Linked DNA regions of Homo sapiens: regions 1 and 3 are each linked to region 2. Evidence: promoter capture Hi-C in human tissues and cell types (Jung and others, 2019). All regions are on one chromosome and are shown on one strand. The core of a region is centred on a gene start or on the middle of the fragment in contact, and the rest is flanking DNA. Distances in the headings are between cores, read along the strand shown. Region 1 overlaps MAGI3 (membrane associated guanylate kinase, WW and PDZ domain containing 3). Region 2 holds the start of LRIG2 (leucine rich repeats and immunoglobulin like domains 2). Region 3 has its middle 38 kb from the start of NUTF2P4.

The links. The method cuts DNA at HindIII sites, captures the fragments that hold promoters and counts their contacts. A contact is called where the count stands out against the background at its distance.
Region 1: a contact is called between a fragment that was not itself captured here and the fragment with the promoter of LRIG2 in region 2, in 1 of the 25 tissues and cell types used here (hippocampus).
Region 3: a contact is called between a fragment that was not itself captured here and the fragment with the promoter of LRIG2 in region 2, in 2 of the 25 tissues and cell types used here (H1 embryonic stem cells and thymus).

The regions. Positions count from the first base shown.
Region 1 is chr1:113,551,640-113,554,836 of GRCh38, reverse strand. The region is part of intron 2 of MAGI3 (membrane associated guanylate kinase, WW and PDZ domain containing 3); the gene reads right to left. Among named protein-coding and RNA genes, the nearest start is that of MAGI3, 160 kb to the right of the region's middle. The HindIII fragment of the contact is 6,323 bases long and covers 1-3,197 here.
Region 2 is chr1:113,071,574-113,074,501 of GRCh38, reverse strand. LRIG2 (leucine rich repeats and immunoglobulin like domains 2) reads right to left here and starts at 1,304. Exons shown (of 18, transcript NM_014813.3): 1 at 857-1,304. The coding sequence starts at 1,095. It overlaps LRIG2-DT (LRIG2 divergent transcript), which reads left to right and starts at 1,400. Exons shown (of 3, transcript NR_103777.1): 1 at 1,400-1,563. RefSeq lists enhancers at 135-184, 784-843, 460-991, 1,024-1,333, 992-1,525 and 1 more. The HindIII fragment of the contact is 29,814 bases long and covers 1-2,928 here.
Region 3 is chr1:112,784,160-112,787,168 of GRCh38, reverse strand. No RefSeq gene overlaps it. Among named protein-coding and RNA genes, the nearest start is that of NUTF2P4, 38 kb to the right of the region's middle. The HindIII fragment of the contact is 8,522 bases long and covers 1-3,009 here.

The DNA.
Region 1 (3,197 bases), core at 466-2,965, 480 kb before region 2:
CTTTTTATCAATGGTTTTTTATAATCTAATTATGATGTCCTTTGATATGGTTTTCTTCACATTTCTTCTGCTTGGGATCTATTGAGCTTCTTAGATCTGTGCACTTATTATTTTCATCAAATTTGGAAACATTTCAGTCACTATTTCTTTTTTTTCTCCTTCCTCCACTTTGGCTTGATAGTTTGTCATGGGTAAATATAAATGCATCATAGTCCTGTTCTGCCTGTATTTCAATGTCTGAAAACAGCTGTTACATATTCCTCGTCCAATTTCCAGTTCTTTATTACAAAAGGGTAAATCTAGTACTAGTTATGGTACTGGTACTTCATTGCAGAAGTAGAAATCTCTCCCCTCCCCATTGTCATCTGGTTGCTCAAAAAAAAAAAAGTTCACTTTTTCAGTCATTTTCTTCTCTATGCTTCAGTTTCATTAGTTTATATTGCTACGTGTTCAGGTTCACTGATCTTTTCTTCTCCAGTTTTGAATCTCCTGTTGAGTCCATTCAGTGAATTTTTAAGGTTCCACTTCATTCATACACACACACACACACACATATGAATATTTATATATAATTTTTCTCTTCATTATGTTGATACTGTTCTTTAAATCCTTGAGCATATTTCTAATAACTAAAACTCCTGGTATAGTAATGCCATCATGTGTCATTTCTGTTTCTTTTTTCTATCAGCTGACTTTTCTTTTGATTATGGGTCACATTTTCCTGCTTTTTGCAGGTCTAGTAATTTTTTATTAGATGCTGGACACTCTGAATATTTTGTTACACAATGTTTCCATTTTGTTGTCTTTCTATTTTTTTGTTTGTTTGTTTGAGACGTAGTCTCGCTCTGTCACCAGGCTGGAGTGCAGTGGCACGATCTCGGCTCACTGCAACCTCCACTTCCCAGGTTCAAGCAATTCTCCTGCCTCAGCCTCCCAAGTAGCTGGGACTACAGGCACCCGCCACCACGCCCAGCTAATTTTTGTATTTTTAGTAGAGATGGGGTTTCACCATGTAGGCCAGGATAGTCTCAATCTCTTAACCTCATGATCCGCCTGCCTCAGCCTCCCAAAGTGCTGGGATTACAGGCGTGAGCCACTGAGCCCAGACACTATCTTTCTTTAAAGAGTGTTGATTTACTTCTTTCCTTCTTTCTTCCTTTTTTGCTAGCAGTTAAGTTGCATGCATATTCACTTGATCCTTTGGGGTCTTGCTTAATTAAGCTTTGTTAAAGCAGGCCTAGAGGAGCTTTATCTGACTATTTTAGCCCTGCTAGTAAGGGAGGACCCTTATGGGATTCTTCCACCAAGCTGATTAGAACTCAAATGTCTCCTGGCCCCTGGGTAAGCTCTGGGAATTGTTAAACTTAAAACTCCGAGAGATTTTTTGGTTTAACCTTGAAGAGTCTGGTCCTACATATTCTCAGCTTAGTATTCAGCCACAGAGTCAAGGGGGTGCCTTTACAGATTGCTTGAGCTCTTTTTCTTCATAGCCCTCTCCTCTGTGACATTCTGTCCTGCAAATTCCAGATACCTCAGGCTTCTTGAACTCAGATTTCTGTCCCTTCAACTCAGAGTCCATTGTACTCTGCCTGGACTCTCCCTCCTTGTGCTGTGGTCCAGAAAGTGCCTCTAAGTAGAAAGTTGAGGAAATTATAGGATTCCTCTGTGTGTGGTCTCCTTTCTTCTTCTCTCAAGGATCATAGTCCTGTTCCACCTACAGCTCAATATCTGACAATAATAGAAGTGCCCTCTTTTTTCAACGTTGTTGCTCAAATTGTTTCAGATTTTTGGAGTAAGTATCAAGCACCCCTTCTAGGTGGCTTCTATGTCCTTCTGATATGTCTCTATAATGTTTTAAGCACTATATACTTTCTGATACACTTATATGCTCCAAAGCTCATCTTGTACTTTCCTTGTACCAGACCTAGAATCAGAACTATCTCCAAGGAGACCTCAAACTTTTTAGGAAAGTATGATATTTAGAGATCACATGTGACCCTTCAGTATGCTACCTGCTACTGATGTGTCATTGCGTCTAGGTTCCTAGAGGGAGCTTTGGACACTTCAATTTTTGTGTAAGTTAAGAGGGCCTGTTGAGATCTAAAAGGGCTACAGCTGCTTGGACCCTGTGAAATGAAACAAAATAAATTTTAGCTCCCTTCTAGGATAAAAACCTCACACTGAGGAAACTGCAAAACTGGAACAATAAAATTAAAAGAAAAACTTAAGTGAAAGTGGCAGAGGGCAGTATAAAAAAAAGACCTATCTTAGAAAGTACAAGTACATATTTTTATTATCTTGTTTTAACAAGGGAAGAGGAAGCTCTAGAGCTATGAAACTAAAAATGAGACATCCCATGCAGGCAAAATATCAAGTTACTTACAAAGGAATGAAAATTAGATTGCTACCAAACTCTTTAAGAGCAATGCTTTATGCCAAAAACAGTTAGATAGTTGACTAATATATTTAAGATAGTCAAGGAAAGAAAATGAGTCAAAAATTTTATATCCATCCAAACAAACATCAAAGTATAAAGGCCACAAACAAACTCCTAAGATGATCCTGTGAGCCTTTGCTGGGAAAACGAGTAAAGAAAAAGCTTTAGACAACTACAATTAGTGAAAAATAACAACATAAGGATTGGTGGTTATATTAAATATGTATTTACCCACAGAATAAAAGATAAATGATAATTATAAAGGAGGAAAGTACAGTAATGTAATGGCTATTTGCTTAGCCAATGTAGAACAACAGCCCAACTATCAAAAAAAGTAGGGTAAGAATGAGAAAAGCACAGCAAAGTGTGGGATACATTTACTGATTACCTTATATTTCGTAGGAATAAAAAGATATTACTTCAAGTCAGATGATGGGAGAGAAGGAAGGAAAAAGAAGAGATGACTAAGTAATTTTAATATTACTCATAGTAGAGACAGAAGCAAAAAAATAGGGAGGGAGGAACAAAGATTATTATATAAAGGTATCAAGGTAACCATTAAAAAAAAGATCCCTACAAACCTTCCTAAAAAGAGATCAAATAAAATGACTACACAGTGAAAAGCTTTTCATACAAAAGGCTTATATATGGTAAATATAAAAACCATGACAGAACTGAGGCTAAAGATATTGATCACATCAATAAAAATTTAAGAAGTTTCACACTGGCTACTGAGTAAAGTCTAGAACTATTTGTAAAA
Region 2 (2,928 bases), core at 55-2,554:
CCTGCTGTTGTTCCTAATACCACCAGGCTGACTCAGACTAAGGAGCCCTCCAAGTTCCACTGTCTAATAAAGACCTGTCAAAGTGAAAACTCAACAGTGGAAACTCCAGAATTCATTCAACCGTTGTACCTGCTTTACCTACATAAATAAGCAGAACTGATTTTTGGGTTCTTTGCCACAAGAAGATGCGCTGAAAACAAAGCATCAAATGGTTCTGCAAAAAATACTCCTCCTCTTTACAGTGAAGTTTAAATTAGATCAAGAATGCTACTTACAAAGATATTCTGAATTACAGGATCTCCTGATTCATCATAATGAACTTTTCAACCCTGTTAAGTATCAAAACTGCAGCACAAAATCAGCCAACATGCGAACTAAGGACTAAAGACAGTTCATAGGTCTTTGGCGATTGTGATTATAAAATCACGTGCCTGAGGACCACTAAGTCTGAGGTACACACCAAATCATGCAGCTCAAGATAAGCAGAAAGCACTGTTCCGTGCTCAACCCACCCCCCGCCCCACCAACCATCCAAAGTCAATGCTGGTGCCCAGGACCCGTGAGTCCTTACCATTAAATATGCCCGCCCCATTTCCTCCCCAGTTGAGGAAATCACAGACTCCTTGGCCCCAAGAATCTTAACCCTCGTCTTCATACAATTCTCCAGAAACCTTAACACCGGCTTTTTTAGGCTCCCACCACCTAAAACAAAGTTCATAAAATCCTGACGGCAGTTTCCTTCAGAGCTTAGGCTCTCGACCACACCCTCCGACCAGGCCTGTCTCCCTCCTGCCTGCCCCCTGTAGAGGGAAGGCTCCCCCTCCTTTTGGTCACTCTGCCTGGCCGCTCTACTCACAGGATAGCGGTGTCGGGGGGCAGCAAGCCCGACAGCGCCCTCCAGCTCGGTGCGGGCAATTTCCTGCGACTGCAGTCCAGGAGAGGAATGCGGCAGGAGCAGGGCGCGGGGCAGAGACCTGCTCCGGCGGCGGGCAACAGGAGGAGAGCGGTCTGGGCAATGAAGAGTAACCGAGAAAGCACTCTAGATCGACACCCCAGCAACTGCTCCTCCGGGACGCCTAGGGGCGCCGGCGCCATTTTCCCCCTCGACCTGGACGTGGCCTAGAAGAGCTGCCTGCTAGAAAAGGAGGATCGGCGGAGAAGCTCAGCAGAGATGCTCGGTGGCTGCACTGTCTCCCGAAGCCCCGGCTGAAGGCTGTACCATCTAAAGGCATGCAAGGAGCAGACGCAGCGCGACAGCGGGGTCGACGGCCTGGGACACACGGCCTGACGGACACCTCTCGTCCGCCCCTCCCCACGGCGCAACGTCCTCACGCACAGGGGCCAGCCAATCGGTGCCATAAGATGAGGTTGCGCCCGGGGCGGAACTCAGTGAGGGGCGGGGCCAGACGCAGCCGAGTATCTTGAGGAGAAGGACTTTAAAGCGTTCAGGGATTTTAGCTGCCGCTGTGGAGTTCCGCCGCTGTTCTTCCGCTGGAGGGCGCAGTAGTTCCTTAAGAGGGAATGGTGCGGCGAATAGCTGTGAGTTCAAAGTCCTGACTACAGGTATATCTACTGTAGTAGAAAAGGATCTTTTATTTGCTCTGGGCTTTAAGAAAGGGGAGTGGCAGAAGGGCTGCCTTCCAAGTCGCACACACGAATGGGTCACGGGAGCTTCTATCCTGGCTTTGGCCAGATCGGCCTCCAGAGCCGAGCTCGAGCCTCTTCTGCCCCCTGCTGCTTGGCTGTAGCCCCTGCTCTTCTGCAAGTAGGCGGCAACTGCCATTTGCATAAGATCAATATCACTCTCTGTTAATGGCCTTGTAAGCTCCTGAAGGCAGAGGCCCTGTTTCTTCATCGGTGCACCTCCACCTTTTGTTCTAGCTTGGAGTTCAATAAATTTTGGTGGGACTGCACCTGCATGTCTATATAAAGGAAATACCCTTCTCTTTGGAGGGATGCTGTCAAGGTCACTCTCAGAAAAGCAAGCGAGACAAGAGGGTGTTGAGCAGTCAACAAAGCAAAGACTGGATGTGAGGAAATTTATTTCTCCTAAAGCAGAGGCTATGGAAAACTTACTAGGAACAGTGAAGTCTGGCCATCTTATGCTCATTCAGCCATCCAAGGTTGTAAATAAGACTTTGAGAATAATAGTGATGGTTCACTTATACGTAGTGAACTTTTCAAAGGGCGTTTGCATCTGTTATCTTGTTTGCTCCTTCAGTGACTGTGACATTGGCAAGACAATTATTGCTGATGATGCAACAAGCCCCAAGAGGTTAAACCAAGTTACTCTTGAGGCAGGGGCAGGTTCGACATTAACATGGGTTTTCTGACATAAATTGAAAATCTGAGCAGGTTAAAAAGAATGATAATGCCTAGGTTAGGGTTCTCATAGAAAGTAACTGAAAGCAATCTTTCCCATGGCAGATTATGGAGTCATAATTATGTTTTTAAAAACCTTTTTCTGTTTTTTTTTTTTAATATTGAAGTATATATTGGAAACAAGGCCATATCCAATGCTACAGTCCAAACCAAACTTTTAAAGCCAAGACAGCGGAATGAAACTTACTCTTAGCCTTCTTCCCTTAGCTGTTGAGCAGACTTAACAAACTCTGGTAAGAAATCCGGCATAGGCAGGAACCTTACAAAAAAAAAAAGGAGGCAGTTTAGTTCCTTTCTACATTATAGTTTCAGAGCTTTCCTATGAAACTATACCAAATGGGGCCATTAGAAATTAATGCTCTCTAACCTGTATCCTCCGCAGTAAGTGGCTCACTGCAATCTCTGCCTGCCGTATTCAAGCGATTCTCCTGCCTCAGCCTGCCTAGTAGCTGGGACTACAGGTGTGCACCACCATGCCCGGCTAATTTTTGTATTTTTAGTAGAGACGGGGTTTTGCCTTTTTGGCCAGGCTGGTCTCGAACTCCT
Region 3 (3,009 bases), core at 78-2,577, 290 kb after region 2:
GCCCACCACAACGCCCAGCTAATTTTTTGTATTTTTAGTAGAGATGGGGTTTCACCGTGTTAACCAGAATGGTCTCAATCTCCTGACCTTGTGATCTGCCTGCCTCGGCCTCCCAAAGTGCTGGGATTACAGGCGTGAGCCACCGTGCCGAGCTCTAATTTTGTATTTTTAGTAGAGACAGGGTTTGTCCATGTTGGTCAGGCTAGTCTTGAACTCCTGACCTCAGGTTATCTGCCCGCCTCAGCCTCCCAAAGTGCTGGGATTACAGGCATGAGCCACCAAGCCCAGCCTAAACCTCTTCTTTCTTTCTTTTCTTTTTTTTTGAAACAGAGTCTCACTCTTTTTGCCCAGGCTGGAGTGCAATGGCGCAATCTCGGCAGACTGCAACCTCCCCTTCCCGGGTTCAAGCAATTGTCCTGCCTGCCTCAGCCTCCCGAGAAGCTGAGATTACAGGTGTGCATCACCACGCCCAGCTATTTTTTTTTGTATTATTAGTAGAGGCGGGATTTCACCATGTTGGCCAGGCTAGTCTAAAACTCCTGACCTCAGGTGATCCACCCACCTCAGCCTCCCAGAGTGCTGGAATTATAGGCGTGAGCCACTGTGCCCAGCCAATTTCTTTTTTTTTTTAATGAAAAAAATATAATGATGGAACTGATAAAGAAATTTCATTATTTTGTCCTCTAAAATGTGTGTGCCTGCTCTCAGATTGTCTTTTTGTCTTGGCTGCGATTCTGCATAAAATCTCTCACTGAAGCACTCAAAAGGCTGGTCGATTTAATGTCAGGCTGGGCGTGGTGGCTCACACCTGTAATCCCAGCACTTTGGGAGGCCGAGGCGGGCGGATCACGAGGTCAGGAGATCAAGACCATCCTGGCTAACACGGTGAAATCCCGTCTCTACTAAAAATACAAAAAATTAGCCGGGCATGGTAGCGGGCGCCTGTAATCCCAGCTACTCAGGAGGCTGAGGCAGGAGAATGCCAATTTCTTTTCTTTAATAAATTACCCAGTCTTGGCTGGGCACAGTGGCTAATGCCTGTAATCCCAGCACTTTGGGAGGCCGAGGCAGGGGAAAAACCTGAGGTCAGGAGTTTGAGACCAGCCTGACCAATATGGTGAAACCCCATCTCTACTAAAAATACAAAAATTAGCCAGTTGTGGTGTTGGGTGCCTGTAGTCCCAGCTACTCAGGAGGCTGAGACCAGAGAATTGCTTGAACCCAGAAGGCAAAGGTTGCAGCGAGCCAAGATCACGCCACTGCACTCCAGCCTGGGCGACAGAGCGAGACTCTGTCTCAAAAATAAATAAATAAATAAAATTACTCAGTCTTAGGTGTTTCTTTTTTTTTCTTTTCTTTTTTCTTTCTTTCTTTCTTTCTTTCTTTCTTTTTTTTTTTGAGACAGAGTTTTGCTCTTGTTGCCCAGGCTGGAGTGCAATGGTGCAATCTCGGCTCACTGCAACCTCTGCCTCCTGAGTTCAAGCAATTCTCCTGCTTCAGCCTCCCAATTAGCTGGGATTACAGGCATGCACCACCATGCCTGGCTAATTTTGTATTTTTAGTAGAGACGGGGTTTCTCCATGTTGGTCAGGCTGGCCTCGAACTCCCGACCTGAGGTGATCCGCCTGCCTCGGCCTCCCAAAGTGCTGGGATTACAGGCGTGAGCCATCACACCTGGCCTTTTTTTTTTTTTTTTTTTGAGACAGAGTCTTGCCCTCTTGCCCAGGCTGGAGTGCAGTGGCATGATCTCTGCTCACTGCAACTTCTGCCTCCTGGGTTCAAGCAATTCTCCTGCCTCAGCCTCCCGAGTAGCTGGGAATACAGGCACGTGGCATCATGCCTGGCTAATTTTTGTATTTTTAGTAGAGACAAGGTTTCACCATGTTGGCCAGGCTGGTCTCAAACTCCTGACCTTGTGATCCGCCCGCCTCAGCCTCCCAAACTGCTGGGATTACAGGCTTAAAATAATTCCTTGCCGGGAGCAGTGGCTCATGCCTGTAATCCCAACACTTTGGGAGGCCAAGGCGGGCAGATCACGAGGTCAAGAGATCAAGACCTTCCTGGCCAACATGGTGAAAACCAGTCTCTACTAAAAATAAAAAAATTAGCTGGGCATGGTGGTGCGCACCTGTAGTCCCAGCTACTCGGGAAGCTGAGGCAGGAGAATCGCTTGAACCTGGGAGGCAGAGGTTGCAGTGAGCCAAGATCGCGCCACTGCATTCCAGCCTGGCGACAGAGTGAGACTCCAGCTCAAAAAAAAAAAAAAAAAAAAGAAAGAGAAAAGTATTTCTTTATAGCAATGTAAGAACAAACTAGGGCCAGGCACGGTTGCTCACGCTTGTAATCCCGGCACTTTGGGAGGCCGAGGTTGGTGGAGCACCTGCGGTCAGGAGTTGGAGACCAACCTGGCCAATATGGTGAAGCCTCATCTCTACTAAAAATACAAAAAAATTTAGCTGGGCATGGTGGTGGGCACCTGTAACCCCAGGTACTCAGGAGGCTGAGGCAGGAGAATTACTTGAACCTGGGATGCGGAGGTTGCAGTGACCCAAGATTGCGCCATTGCACTCCAGCCTGGGCAAAAAGAGTGAAACTCCATCTCAAAAAAAAAAAAAAACCAAAAAAAACAAAAACCAAAAAAACCCCACAAACTAACACAGAAAACTGGTACCAAGGAGTGGGGCATTGCTATAAAGATACCTGAAAATGTGGAAGCACCTTTGGAGATGGGTAATGGAAAGAGGCTGGAACAGTGTGGAAGGTCAGAAGATGGCAGGAAGATGAGGGAAACTTTGGAACTTCCTAGAGATGTGTTAAATCAAGCTTCTCCGACCAGCAGCCCATGGGCCACACGCAAACCAGAATGGCTTTGAATGCAGCCCAGCACAAATTCATAATCTTTCTTAAAACATTATGAAATGTTGGCTGGGCGCAGTGGCTCACACCTTAATCCCAGCACTTTGGGAGGCCAAAGTGGGTGGATCATGAGGTCAAGAGATCGAGGCCATC